Regions from separate parts of the Homo sapiens genome. Here all the other regions are linked to region 4. The links are contacts of gene promoters, found by promoter capture Hi-C in blood cells and fetal thymus (Javierre and others, 2016). All regions are on one chromosome and are shown on one strand. The core of a region is centred on a gene start or on the middle of the fragment in contact, and the rest is flanking DNA. Distances in the headings are between cores, read along the strand shown. Region 1 has its middle 5.6 kb from the start of TMEM192. Region 2 holds the start of SAP30 (Sin3A associated protein 30). Region 3 has its middle 9.6 kb from the start of HMGB2. Region 4 holds the start of CBR4 (carbonyl reductase 4). Region 5 overlaps GALNT7 (polypeptide N-acetylgalactosaminyltransferase 7).

The links. Contacts are between HindIII fragments. The CHiCAGO score rates a contact against its expected background, and 5 or more counts as called.
Region 1: a fragment that was not itself captured here is called in contact with the fragment with the promoter of CBR4 in region 4 in 2 of 17 cell types (naive CD8 T cells and total CD4 T cells); the score reaches 8.1 in naive CD8 T cells.
Region 2: a contact is called between a fragment that was not itself captured here and the fragment with the promoter of CBR4 in region 4, in 1 of 17 cell types (total CD4 T cells). The highest score is 5.0, in total CD4 T cells.
Region 3: a fragment that was not itself captured here is called in contact with the fragment with the promoter of CBR4 in region 4 in 1 of 17 cell types (non-activated CD4 T cells); the score reaches 5.2 in non-activated CD4 T cells.
Region 5: a contact is called between a fragment that was not itself captured here and the fragment with the promoter of CBR4 in region 4, in 2 of 17 cell types (non-activated CD4 T cells and activated CD4 T cells). The highest score is 9.9, in non-activated CD4 T cells.

The regions. Positions count from the first base shown.
Region 1 is chr4:165,117,014-165,119,819 of GRCh38, forward strand. No RefSeq gene overlaps it. Among named protein-coding and RNA genes, the nearest start is that of TMEM192, 5.6 kb to the left of the region's middle. The HindIII fragment of the contact is 7,778 bases long and covers 1-2,806 here.
Region 2 is chr4:173,369,997-173,372,696 of GRCh38, forward strand. It overlaps SAP30 (Sin3A associated protein 30), which reads left to right and starts at 958. Exons shown (of 4, transcript NM_003864.4): 1 at 958-1,501. The coding sequence starts at 1,187. It overlaps SAP30-DT (SAP30 divergent transcript), which reads right to left and starts at 702. Exons shown (of 4, transcript NR_183973.1): 1 at 296-702. RefSeq lists enhancers at 179-418, 1,502-2,065, 1,769-2,068 and silencers at 819-988, 1,269-1,648. The HindIII fragment of the contact is 6,906 bases long and covers 1-2,700 here.
Region 3 is chr4:173,342,645-173,345,344 of GRCh38, forward strand. No RefSeq gene overlaps it. Among named protein-coding and RNA genes, the nearest start is that of HMGB2, 9.6 kb to the left of the region's middle. The HindIII fragment of the contact is 3,910 bases long and covers 1-2,700 here.
Region 4 is chr4:169,008,903-169,011,632 of GRCh38, forward strand. CBR4 (carbonyl reductase 4) reads right to left here and starts at 1,353. Exons shown (of 5, transcript NM_032783.5): 1 at 1,046-1,353. The coding sequence starts at 1,187. It overlaps CBR4-DT (CBR4 divergent transcript), which reads left to right and starts at 1,527. Exons shown (of 2, transcript NR_185919.1): 1 at 1,527-1,554; 2 at 1,882-2,158. RefSeq lists enhancers at 354-1,303, 1,403-1,732. The HindIII fragment of the contact is 6,180 bases long and covers 1-2,031 here.
Region 5 is chr4:173,169,642-173,172,341 of GRCh38, forward strand. The region is part of intron 1 of GALNT7 (polypeptide N-acetylgalactosaminyltransferase 7); the gene reads left to right. GALNT7-DT (GALNT7 divergent transcript) reads right to left here and starts at 11. Exons shown (of 7, transcript NR_134242.1): 1 at 1-11. RefSeq lists a silencer at 1-548. The HindIII fragment of the contact is 850 bases long and covers 961-1,810 here.

The DNA.
Region 1 (2,806 bases), core at 295-2,794, 3.9 Mb before region 4:
GACCCTGTCTCAACAACAACAACAAAAAAAAAGAAGAGGATAATATCACAAGTATAGTGCTTTTGCATGCTGAGTACTTGAAGTGAAGGACACATTGGCAGGCCTCAAAAGCCAAGTTTCTCTATGACTTTTGAACAAACAGGCCTTGCTGACCCTGGTACTAAGCATTAAAGTAGATGCTTGTAAATTCTTATCCCTACTCAGTCTATTGTCATTAGATCACCTGTAATCCCAGCTACTCAGGAGGCTGAGGCAGGAGAATTGCTTGAACCCGGGAGGCAGAGGTTGCAGTGAGCCGAGATCGCGCCACTGCACTCCAGCCTGGGTGACAGAGCGAGACTCCCTCTTAAATAAATAAATAAATAAATCTGTTATGCTTTTCTCTTGTTAATCTGGCTTTTGTTATAGGAGTGTCAGCCATGACCTTTCCACCTCTATGCTACCAAACAGTTCACCATTAGAAGATGCTGGACTGAAGCCCCATCTTTCCTGTGTTGTCACCATCAGCATTGTTCCAGGCACCGTGCTCATTCCTGATCACAGATATTAAAATGTTAATAATATCTCATTGATTTTTTTTCAACATCAAAATCTGTCCTTTATTCACTATGATTTCTATTATTCAGCCTGGCATAACGTAACATGCATACAAACAATAGGTACTTAATTGATATTTTTGTTAATTTTAAAGCAGGATCTCTTTACTGATATTGACTTTAATCTGCCTTTGAAATGGATTTATTTATTTATTTATTGAATAAAGATGGGGTCTCACTATGTTGCCAAGGCTGGTCTTGATCTCCTGGGCTCAAGCAGTCCTCCCACCTCGGTCTCCCAAAGTGCTGGGATTATAGGCATAAGCCACTGTGCTCAGCCTAAATTTATTTTTAATCAATAAATAAAAGTTATATATATTTATGATGTTCAACATGATGTTTTGGTATATGGATACATTGCAGAATGATTGAATCAAGCTAATTAATGTATTTACCACCTCCCATACTTATTTTTTTTTTCTTAACTTGCCTTTTAAATAAAATTTTAGAACAAGTTGATCCTAGCTAAATATTTCTACAATTCTCTTAGGCTGCCCTATACCATTGTCAGAAATGAAGATATCCAAAATTCTGTCTTTGGATAATGTTTTGTAGCTAAATCTCTCTTAGGTACTTAGAGAGATGCCATTGAAAAATTCCCTTTCAATGAACAGACAAAAAAAGGAGGTCAATAGTTATTTTAGCATATCAAATTATATTTAGTTTATGTACTTTTTTCTGGAAAAATTTTTTTTTCTAGAAAGAAATTTAAGGATATTGTAAGCAATTGGAAACATTCCAGTTTCCACTTATTTGTTTCGTAAATGTTTGTATCTTTCAAAGCACCTGTACCACAAATAGAGTCCCGTTGTAACCAAACATTCCACATTTGAGTGATAATGGACTCTGTTAGAGGTCTCAGGGCTTGTAAAGTTTCAGGCTTGATATCCAGTACTTGCCCTCTCATTATTGTTTGTTTTCTCCTAAAGTTCTTATGATCTCAAATCCTGGCATTTAAAAGCACACTTATTTTTGAAGGCAGAATTTTGTTTGTTTGTTTGTTTCACTGACTCAGGAGCAGAAAAAAAAGTTTGCTAAAAATCCCAAAAGTAATTCATGTTTGGATAGACACCAAATATGTGAAGTTTCAGACCAAAACCACAATTTCTCTGAAAGGTTTTAGAAAACACATACCGAAACTCAGGGTGAAAATGAATTTTGTAACCTTCATGAAACTCAAGGCTACTACTTAGTGATTATAGAGCTGACCTTGTCTAATCTCCACTCACTCCTGATTCTTCTTTAATGCCAAGTACCAGGCTCAGGCATCCAGCCCAAGCAGTCGGCAGCATTCTCATGGGAGGAACTCCTTATTTCAGAAATAATCAGAAGATGGGGCTTTAAGTGCTTTGTAGTGATATCTCTTTTAATTAAGTTCTAGACAGTTAAGAAGTAAAACTTTTCTTTTACAATACAATTCATAATGCTGTGTGTTGAGGTCTAAAAGAATATTTGAAGGTATCCCCAAATAACTTATAAAATAATTATTTTGATTCTCCACACTGAGCTGAGCAGTAGCTCCCTAATCTGGCTCTGATTCAGTTCCAAACTATATGAGGCTTTACCCTCTTTCAGGAAGCTCACTCTGCTGAGTCTCAGTCTTTGTACAACCGTTCTAGGAATCAAAGGGGCCTAGTTCCTTTCCAACTTGACTTTTATATTTCTTTTAAAAGTAATCCCCAGTTGATGGATTATTTATTTATTTATTTATTTTGAGATGGAGTCTCACTCTGTTGCTGGAGTCCGATGGCAGGATCTCGTCTCACTGCAACCTCCGCCTGCCAGGTTCAAGCGGTTCTCCTGCCTCATCCTTCCAAGTCGCTGGGAATATGGGCACCTGCCACCACGCCCAACTAATTTTTTTGTATTTTTAGTAGAGATGGAGTTTCACCATGATGGCCAGGCTGACCTCAAACTCCTGACCTCAGGTGATCTGACTGCCTCAGTCTCCCAAAGAGCTGGGATTACAGGTGTGAGCCACCGCGCCCGACCTGATGGATAATTTAATAATGATGTTGAGAAAACCCACCAGCCACTTGGAAGAAAAAAAAGCTGAATCACTCCCCATTTCTTTTTCTTTATTTTTTTCTTTTTCTTTTTTTTTGAGACAGAGTTTCGCTCTGTCACCCAGGCTGGAGTGCAGTGGTGCAATCTTGGCTCACTGCAACCTCTGCCTCCCGGATTCAAGCAATTCTCCTGCCTCAGCCTCC
Region 2 (2,700 bases), core at 1-2,500, 4.4 Mb after region 4:
CCCGGTAGAGCTAATGCAGGGAAGTTTCTGGGAACATTCGACCAGCGTTTGTATTGGTGAGGTTCCAAGTTTCCTTTAAAATGATATGACTCCGCCCTTCTCCAAAACCGTTTGAGGAGAAATGGAAAAGGTTGGGCGTGGAGGTGAAAAGGAGCCCTGTTGTCAACTGGTCCGTACTCCACCTCAGGAGGCGGCCAACTTGGTGCGCCCAAGAATAAAAACATTTCCCTTGTAAGAACATGCAAGTGTTTAGAAACGCCCCCCCACCCCCCCGCAAGGCGTTTGTGAGGGGGACCTGTCACAGTTGAGAAGTCAGGATGGGCGTTTTCCTCCCAGGAGGTGCCCTATTAATTTGCGGCCTCGATAGTTGGTCAAGCCGGGATGTTAGCTGCGGAACCTCCAGGACCGAAGAGCGCCAATTCTCCTGAGTTCTCCTTGGTTTGGGTTTCCCACAAAAGAGTGGTCACACCAAAAACTCTGTCTCCACAAATGCGAAACGGGCTCGAAACTTTTTTTTCCCCACACGATCACTTCCCACACCACTCCCATCCCTTTATGTTTCGCCTCAGGAGTCGAGGAACTTCTCTGAAAACCAATTCTACGATATTCCAGCAGCTAAACACAGCCCGAATTCCCTAGAAACAGAGAGAGCGAGAGAAAACACTGTAAACCCCAATCACACGCTCCTGTTTTCCCGGTACTGAAAAAAAAAAAAAAAAAAAAAAGTGGGTCCGTGGCCGCGCTATGCATGCTAGGATTAGTAGTTCCTCCGTCCCTCATGGCGCGGGGTCAGGGCGGAGCTCAGGTTGACTCTGCAGCAGAGAACTACAATTCCCATGGGGCCGCGCGGCAGAAAGAAAGGGGCGGGACGGGAGGGGGCGCGTCGCGCTTGCGCAGGTCCCGGGGCCGGAGGGAGGCGGAGGCGTAGCGGTCCAACTGCTGAAGTCCCCATGTGACAGTGAGCGGGGTCCCCGCTCCAGGAGACGCTCGAGTCTGCGTCCCGGCCCTCAGCACTGTCCACTGTTTCGGTGCCAGCAGAGACCAGCAGGCCCGGGACAGTTGGTGTTTGGCCGTGCCGCTGTCTAACTTGGTGTGCAGAGTGAATTGCCGCTGCCGGAGCGGAGAGAGGCGGAGCGGCCAGGAGAGAGGGGATTTCTGTCAGCGCCGGCCTCGGGAGCTCGGAGACATGAACGGCTTCACGCCTGACGAGATGAGCCGCGGCGGGGATGCGGCCGCCGCAGTGGCCGCAGTGGTCGCTGCCGCGGCCGCCGCCGCCTCGGCGGGGAACGGGACCGGCGCGGGCACCGGGGCTGAGGTGCCGGGCGCGGGGGCGGTCTCAGCGGCTGGGCCCCCGGGGGCGGCCGGGCCGGGCCCCGGGCAACTGTGCTGCCTGCGGGAGGATGGTGAGCGGTGCGGCCGGGCGGCAGGCAACGCCAGCTTCAGCAAGAGGATCCAGAAGAGCATCTCCCAGAAGAAGGTGAAGATCGAGCTGGATAAGAGCGTAAGTAAACCGCGGGACCGCCCTGCCCTCCCGCCCCTCGGTGGGGCCCCAGGAGCCGGGCAAAGGCACGGGTTGTCGGCGGGGTCCCCCAGACAACCGCACTGGCTGCAGTGCGGTCTCGTGGAGTCTGTGTTTGGAAGCAAATAACAAAGTCGCTGCAACTCCTACCGCCACCCCAACACACACACCACACACAGGCTGTCGTTCCCCTCTTCTTTCCCACCCTGGCCCCCAACCTCCCGCTGCCTGCGTCTCTCCCGCGCAGTCTTCCCTCTTCCTTCTCCTCTGCGACCGGGACACGAAACAAAGGGGACCGGCGCACTGAGGGCCCAGAGTAGTTTTCTTGCAGCCCGGCAGCTCTTCTGGAATGGAGGCGCCTTTGTTTTGCTGCCCAAGCTGGTGTTTGGCCCCAGGCGGTACTAAATCCCGTCGTCTAGGAGAAAGCGGAGGACCTTCACGAACAAGGAAGATCCTGTTCTTTTCTGTGTTCCGTCTCCTCCGGAGCGGAGTGAGAGGGAAGCCGAGCTCACCCGCCGCCTGGCAGTGAGCCGGGGTTGTAAACGGCGTTTGCGCTGTCAGCTCCGAGGGCAGCTACTCCGATGGTGGGGAGCACGTAGCCTCTGCGGTTTTGCCATCCCCTTGGCAGCCATCAGGATTTTTTGCACGTCTTTTCGTTTGACCATCTATGAGGTTTTTAGAAACAGCCGTTGCTACTTTTGGGAGATCTGGCTAGCGGTAAATGAATAACATGGTATCGAGAACCTACCACAAGTCCTGCATATTTTTATCTTGCGCTTGGCTTAGAAGTAAATGTAAAAGCCTGTTAGCTCAGTCCGTGTTTGTTTCAAATGCTAGTCTACAGCTCGCAGGAGTATATGTAATTAAAGTTTTTGAAAAGTTTATTTGTGACACTTTTTGCCCGTTTAAACAGTTTTCAGTGTTATCCATGAGAAACTCTTCAGGTGAACTTGCATAATTTCAGATTGTTTTGGAAAAATGTGTTATAGATAAATACATTGATTTAATATTCAGAAAAATGTATAACTGAAATTTAAATATAGTTTTGAAGTCGATGGCTCATTTGTGAAAACGAATGGTTTTGTATCTGGACTATAATTTGGGTATTCAGTTAGAAAGACTGGAAAGCATACATTATATTACTAAAATATGCTGTTCTTTTAAGTAGAGAAAGTACTGTC
Region 3 (2,700 bases), core at 13-2,512, 4.3 Mb after region 4:
CTCACTTTGTTGCCCAGGCTGGAGTGCAGTGGCACAATCTCAGCTCACTGCAGCCTCCGCCTCCCAGGTTCAAGTGATTCTCCTTCCTCAGCCTCCCAAGCAGCTGGGATTACAGGCATGCGCCACAATGCCCGGCTGATTTTTGTATTTTTGGTAAAGTGGGGTTTCACCATGTTGGCCAGGCTGACCTCAAGTGATTCACCTGCCTTGGCCTCCCAAAGTGCTAGGATTACGAGTGTGAGCCATCATGCCCTGCTGAAAATAACTTTTTATCTGCTTTTGTGTAGGTGATATATTAATACTATATTGACCTTATATCAACTCAATGATTGATAACGACTTAAAACTGCAAATTCTTGTGTAAATACTCTTATAAATATAAAGGTGGCATATTTACAACTTTGTCCTCTAAATCGTGTTGTTACTGTGCTTAGTATTTTGACTGTATTTAAAAATATATTCACAAACTATGAAATTTTCAGATATACTTTTCAAAATATACATCTAATTTTAAAGCCTGGAATTCTAATTAGACTGAAAAAATGCACTTACGCATAATTGAGGATTATGCATCCTTCACCCTATTCGGGCCACTCCTGGAGTCAGGGTAGTAGAGCACAGCATTGCAGAGGCCGGAGCCAGAAGAAAAGCAAAAATGCCTTCCATCCTCTTGGCCTTGAATCTCCCATTAACAGAACTGAACCGGAAAGAAATTGGCAAGTGAATCTGGGAAATGATATTTAGAATTCCAGTACTCTGTAATATAGAGAGAGTAAAAGAATGAGAATGGAACTGACAGACAACAGAAATATAACCAGCACAGTCAAACAACTGGCAAGTGGCAGAGTTTATATCTCAAGCAGTCTAGCTCCTGAGTCCATGCACTTAACTACTACAGTATGCAGTGACACTATGATATGCTATAGCAACATTATTTCATACATTTTAAAATTAATGGCTGATGATGAATGCAAGTTGGCAGGAAAGAAATTGTAGGAATTGGATTCATTAAATATTCCAGAAAGATTAAGTTTCTACGTTGTGCCGGACACTACTCGAAATAGAATGATGCAAAACCAAAATGAAACAAGGATGAAGGAAGAGAGTTCCTTTCTCAGTATTTCAGACTGGACAAAATTTCCCTGTGAAGGATTCCAACTGGCTTGATTTGAATCGTGTGCCCCCCTCATTAAGCCAGGCACTTTCAGGGCAGGTATTAGGGGAAATAACCTAGTGGAAATGCTCAATAGAAACCTGAGACAAGGATTTTGTTGCAAATAGTTTATCTAAGAGATGCAGGAAACACCAGTAGGAGGTGGGGAAGCGAGACAAAGAAGGGAAAACAGTCAATAAAGGGTGCGGTATCAAGCCAGATACCACTTATAATGACTGGAGCATAATCCCATGAGAAAACTCTGGGAAAACACAGGCCTCAAAGTTATCCCATCTGAAGGCCAAGTGAGCTGGGGTATCTATATAACAAATCTTTCCAGTCACTTGGTGAAGGCTGCTAGAGTGGGAGTTTGTTAATTCCCAGGCATTTCCAAATTGCCCTGATCACATAGGGACAGAGCTGCCTTCCACAGCTTTGGAGAAAGCCCTCAGGTCAAGAAATCAATGTTGAAGTGGTAATGGCCAGAGAGACAAGAGCAGGGTCTGTCTCAACTTCTTCATCAGGTAAAAATTTTATCTGCCTAATGCATGGAGTTATAAATTTCAAAAGAAAGAACGCCTATGAGAGAGTGTTATAAAATATAAAATGTAATACCAAAAATTATTGTTTAGGAGTTTCTTGAAGGCAGGAGGTGCATATCATGTTTTTACATCTCTCCTAAGGCCTAGTACAGTGCTATGCATATGCATAGGCTCAAATATTTATTGGATGAATTTTTCAATGTAATGATTATTAAATATTCATTAAATATTTTCTAGGTTAATAGGTGTTTTTAAACTTATAATTCATATCAATAACTCATTACTGTTAACTTCTAAAAACCTTTATGTTTGAAAACTATAAAGTAGCATGGTCTTGTTCTATACCTTTGTCTAAAATTCTTAAATCTAGGTTGTTGTTCAGAACTCTGTTAATTACCCAAAACCCATTTTCTCCTTTCTTCTTACTTTAAAAAATATCTTGATTATAAAAAAGGTAATGATAAATTATTGCGGGTTCAAACCAATCATGAGAAAGCTATTCTCAGTAGCATAAGAGAAAGGCAAGAAAATTGTAGACATCAACCCGGACATTATTGAACTACTGAACCATTACCAGTAACCATCTTCTCTCAGTCTTCTTATATGTCAGAAAAATAAACTCATAATAATACTGTTAGATAGATATTCTATTATATGCAGCCATTGGCTAATAACTTTTTTAATAGCATTTTTTTCTTCTTTTGCGTAGCAAGCCCAAGACAAGTCATTTATTTCTGGACTAGATTATTTCATTATAGTAACTCATCAGAAAACTGAGATAAGCAGTAAGTATTTGGCCATTCACATTTTAACTATTTTGGATTCCCCTCTAACTAAAGAAAGATCACGGTTTTTTCCTACAGCTCTCTACCTGTGCTGGCTCCATCAATATTCAGTTTGACATTTTGACACATATCTAAAGAAGCTCAAGAGGGCTCTATCACCAAGAAAGCTGTAGTGAGATGATAGTCTTTCAGATACAAGTTAAAGTCGCTTGTCCAGTTA
Region 4 (2,730 bases), core at 103-2,602:
GTGATACCAAACCGATCAATAATGTTAACTTAAAAATGAACAGCCACACCTGGCGTCTATAGTCCCAGGTCCTTGGGAGACTGAGGCGAGAAGATCTCTAGAGCCAGTAAATCAGGAGTTGGGGTCCAGCACGGGCAACATAATGGGAAGCCCTCTCAAAAAAAAAAAAAAAAAACCAGATACACAAAAACAGTAAGAGCCACAAGACGCACCCCTAGGCCTCTATTCTCCCCATGCCTCCCTGATAGTAAATGAAGTATAATTTTGTCCATTCTGGTGATTAAACAAATAGCATCTTCGGATCTAACGTCCTATTTCTCCCTAAACTCAATGAAGAGTTATATTCACAAAATGACTAATCCATTCATAATAAGCCGGAAATAAAAAACCCTGAAGTTTAAATGCAATAAAAAAGAATTTGGCAGAACAAAGTTCAATTGTCCATTTGCAAAACTCACCAAAACAATTTAATAACATTAAAGCAAACCAGGTATATCTCAAAACTGGCTGGTACTCAAAAGGGTTTCTCTATCAAACACTGCTTTGTGCATTCGCGCAGGGCCAAGGCACGGCCCTTGGGCAAAACTGAAGGGAGCCGTTGGTACCTGCACTCCCACCTTTCCTGCCTGAACTCCTTTCGACCCAGCCCTGTCTCCGGGGGCCGAGAACTCGCCCTTTTCCCTACATTAAAAGTAAACTGTTACGTGGCTCTCTCCCACAACAGGGAAGCTCCTCAGCGTTAGCACTAGCCGCAGGGCGGAGGGTGCGTATAGCGGGGCCTCAAAAGACTACGAGGTCTCAAAGAACACCCCAAGTGTTCAGCCCTCGGCGGCAAGCTGCGTGGCCGGCATTCTGCGAGGCATAGGGAGATCGCGGGTTTCTGCACGAGACGCATTCTACCCTTGGAACGGGAGAGCGCCTGCACGCGGCTACATCGAGTAACCCTAGAGCCCTAAAGGCCAGACCCGCTCTTTTTACAAAGGAGATTTTCTTTAGGCGCCTGGACCGCGGCCATACAACTGGACAACTCCAGTTTGGTACCTACCGCCGAGGTCACCGGCGGCGGCTTTGGCCCCTTCCAGGTTTCTGGCAATGACCGCCAGTCGGTAGCCTTTCCGGGCCATTAACTGGGCCACAGCTCTGCCAATGCCTCGGGAGCCTCCAAAAACAGCACACACTTTGTCCATCTCGGAGTCACAAACTCGGAGGAAAGAGGGTAGGGAGTGGGAGCCCCTCTCCAGGTTCCCTCAGGCTTTTAAACAACCGCGGTTCCAAAAAAAAAAAAAAGAAAAAAAAAGGCAAACCGCAAAAAAAAATAACGCCGCTCGACACCTCCTGCAGCCGCACAATAGTAATGCAAGACGCCGTGAAAAGGAGGAAGAGCTCGACGTCGCCGCGTCGACGTCATCACGCACGGACTCTTCCGCGCCACACCTAACAAATACGCCGACGAGAGCTCCCCGCCGGCGGAAGAATGGCCTGGAGAGGGCCTCGATGCTTGCTGGGACCTGTAGTCTTGACGCATGAGAGCAACTGGCGCAGGCGCGCTGCTCGGTGGGGAATGTACTTGTGGCACTGAGGGGGATCCTCTGTCCCCGCTGGGTCATATCAGTCGGGATTCGAGCCCCGGTGACCAATCGACCCGGTTTGTTCGGAACTGACAGGGTTGTCAAGACGCTGGGCTTTCCCTGGCAAACCAAGACGACCTGATCACGTAGTTAGAACCCAGAGAAAGCATTACTGGGCGTGAGCCGGTCGGGGCTCCGGTATTTGCCCTTCGCCCAGGTGTTGTTTTGGCTACAGACTTGATGTCCTACCTGTTGAAGAAGTCCCCAAGAATCGCACCCACACCAAAACCTACCCTACCTGTTCCTCCCCCAGGTTGCTGTAGAAATGGACCTCTACCCGCCCAGATGTTACCATTCATCGCGAAGGGTGTCGTGAAGATGAATGCCCTGTCGAACATCATCCAGCAGGAGGTCAAGGAATTTTAACTGAATGATTGAATAGTCTTGCAAGATCTATGAAACAAGCTTCGGCTGCTGTAGAGAAACAAAAATGGGTTCCTGCAATTCTAAATAAGATGTACTGGGTGCTCTGAGAGTTAATAAGCTAAAAAATTCAATGTTTGTTACAATTATAGTGTAAACAGAAAGCATTTCTGATACAATATTATTTTACTAGATTCAGAAAAGTATGAGCCATGGTCCCTACCACTAAAAAAACTACAACCCAGAACTACAGGACTAATACACATGAAACACTAGGAGGTATCCAAAATCATACTTAGTAAAATGCAAAATTATATTAACACAAGAGCTCCGAGAAAATGGAGATCAGTGAAGAATGAAGGGGTGCATGGAAAAGCTGGATTTGAGGGCTGGATGAGGTTTGAAAAAAGGAAAACAAGAGCAAAAAGTCTATAAATAAGCAAGTTGAGCATTAATTTAAATTTGTTATTCCTATTCCATTTAGATCCAAAAAAAGATTTGAAATGGTTTGCAAAAATACATGAGTATTTGAATTTAAAAGGCAAAGAGGACCACTGCCCCTTCTCCCACAAGGCCAGAACAATAAATTAGGTCAGTGGAAAAAATACGAATAAAGTCATGCTATAAGAATCTATTTAGTATTAAAGAAGAGATTCATAAACTTAGAGTTTCCTGCCAGCGAAAGCAACAAAGGAAATATAATTACAAGTGGTAATTTCTGTAAGAAATCAGCCTCCTG
Region 5 (2,700 bases), core at 136-2,635, 4.2 Mb after region 4:
CCGGTCCCCCTCGCGTCCCTGGGCGAGGGAGGGGCGGTTGGCCGGAGATGGCGGAGGGGCGTCCCCGCCCCGCCTGCCCGCCGCCCCCAGCCCTCAGCGCCTGGGGAAGCCCCTGCTGTGGCAGTGCTCGGGCGCTATCCGGGGGAAGAGGAGCAGTTCCTCTTCCTTGGCTGCGGCAGGGCTGCTTGGGCCGGAAAACTAACTTGTGTCGGCGCCCGGCCGCCCCGCGCCGGCTGCCGGCTAGCTCAGGCCGACGCCGAGGGGAGCGGCGGCGCGGAGCTCGCGGCGGCTCCGCTGGGACGCATTTGTCTGCCGCCCAGGGCGCGAGTGTTAGCGCTGACATTCCTTGGATTTGGAGGGTTTAGTCAGGCGCCTCGGAACATTAGTTACCCGGAGCCGCGCCGCGCGGGGAAGGGACCGCGGGCACTGCGGCTTCCCTGACCCGGCAGCGGGCGGCGCGCACCGGCCTCGCCCCCGACCCTGACCTGCTTCCCCCCGGATGAACCGTTGCACCACCTGCTTCCTCCTCCCCGCTGGGACAGCCAACTGGGCCGGCTGCCAGTGGGGGTAGGAGAGGGTATGAGGGGCTCACGACCGCCGAGGCGGCGGGGCTGCAGGAGGAGTCGAGTCGCTCTCTCTGTTGTAAAGTGCTTTTTGCAAGTGTGATGAGCATCGCTTCTATGTCATGTTTATTTAACTTTCCTTCTGGAAAGTTAGCATCAAGAAGTTGGGCAAAAAGGCTTGTGGCGTCCTTTCAAGAGTAAGAATCCTAGGAGGAGATCCCATTATCAGCTCTTCGCCTATATCATGAGATTAGATGTAATCTGGAAGTTTTAGTATTTGAAGTCTCTACAGCAGTGGAATCCCTTTGTAATATCTGGGATAGATTCCCATCTAAGTCATCTAAATTGATGGTAATAAAAAGTATCAGTTTTCCTTTTCAGTACATTTGCGGTTTTAAGCTTCTCAGCTCATGGAGTGATGGTGATCTTTTTATAATTTTGCTCTCAATATGACTTATTGACAAAGGATAACTGAATATTGCAATTGAGGATATTTGTTTTAAGTCATCAAATGGCTTTTTACATGTAGCTAGAAATGTTTAACCCCCTATTTTCTGGTAGAGAAACTGACGAAAAACTGACAAAACTAGCTAGGTTCAGAATGTCCCGCCCTTCTGATGATCTTTTAAAGAGGTGGCGGAACATCAGCATCACTTGCCAACTCGTGGAATATTTTATTAGTGCAAACAAAGGATGGGCCATAATGCCCATTTCAGTACTATATGGTGATGATAAAGAAGGTGATGATATCTTGATTTTTTGTTTGTTTCAGTGTACTTGATAAAGTTTCTCAGTGGATCCAGTGTAATTTCTGTCATTTGTCAAAAACAAAAGGTAGATTTTAAAGACTTAACATAATTAACATTAAGAGGAATGCTTAGGTATCAGAAGAGCAAGAAAGACCCTTTTATTGGCTTCCCAGGTAAATAGTAATACAAGCAATTTAAAGTGTAGCTTATAAATAATAAGAGCATAAATAAGGGATTATTGCCTTCCTTTAATAAAGACTAACCTAGGAGCTTTTAAGGTACAGTGCTAGAAGGACAAATCCTGTAGGGAGGATTCTGACTCCTGAGTTTCTCCTCCCCCTTGTGGTTCTTTTACTTCGATGACTATTGCATATATTCCACCCATGGTGAGATCTCTGCTTCTCTTTAATGCTGATCTACACATGGACTTTTTTGGATCCCTTTAAATAGCCTGAACGATCCAGTTTACCAGGTATGGGTTCTGCCTCTACTCCAGCAAGCTTGTACCTGTGGCTCCATTCACCCTGTGCCACTTTTTGTCTTGAACTATGAATATGTCATACACTAAATTCTGTTACAGCCTTGACAACTTGGGATGGTCCTTTCTCATCTGCACTATTTCCTTGTTTTAGGTCTGTCCACCTGTGGAGTCAAGACAAAAGAAACATGTTTCTTATTTCCTTCCCATCTCTGGGCCTCTTGCCCTTTCTCTGAAGTGAATGATGTGAAAAATGACCTTACATTTCCGATCATATTCTGTTGTGTGATTTTAAATATTGATTTATTTGAACATTTTTGAGTGCCAATTATATACCAGGCATGGTACTAGTTGTTAAGGAAATACTCCTTGTCCTTAATCTCATGGATCTTGTAAAAACCACACAGCAATCAAACCTCGATAAATATATAAATAAAAATTGTGCTACTGCTTTCATAGTGAAAACCATAGGGGGCAAGAAAATGGAGGAATTTGGTCATAAAAGCCTTACTTGAAGAAATGACTATTAGCAGTAGCAAATCCACACAGGTCTGAAGCAACTCGATTCTTACCTCCTGTGGGAAAGAATTTATTGGAGGGGCATAAGGCAGAGTGAGAGACCGAGGCAAATTTTTGAGCAGGAGTGAGAGTATTAAAAAGCTTTAGAGCAGGAACGGAAGGAAGTACACTTTGAAGAAGGCCATGTGGGCTACTTGAGAAATCCAAGTACCTCGTCTGACCCTGGACTTGGGGTTTTATACATTGGCATGATTCCAGGGTTTGCGTTTCTTCTCCCGTGATTCTTCCCTTGGGGTGGGCTGTCTGCATGCGCAGTGGCCTGCCAGCAGCGGGGAGGGGCTGCCTGCAGTGTGTTTACTGAAGTTTTACTCATGCTCACTTGAGGCATTTT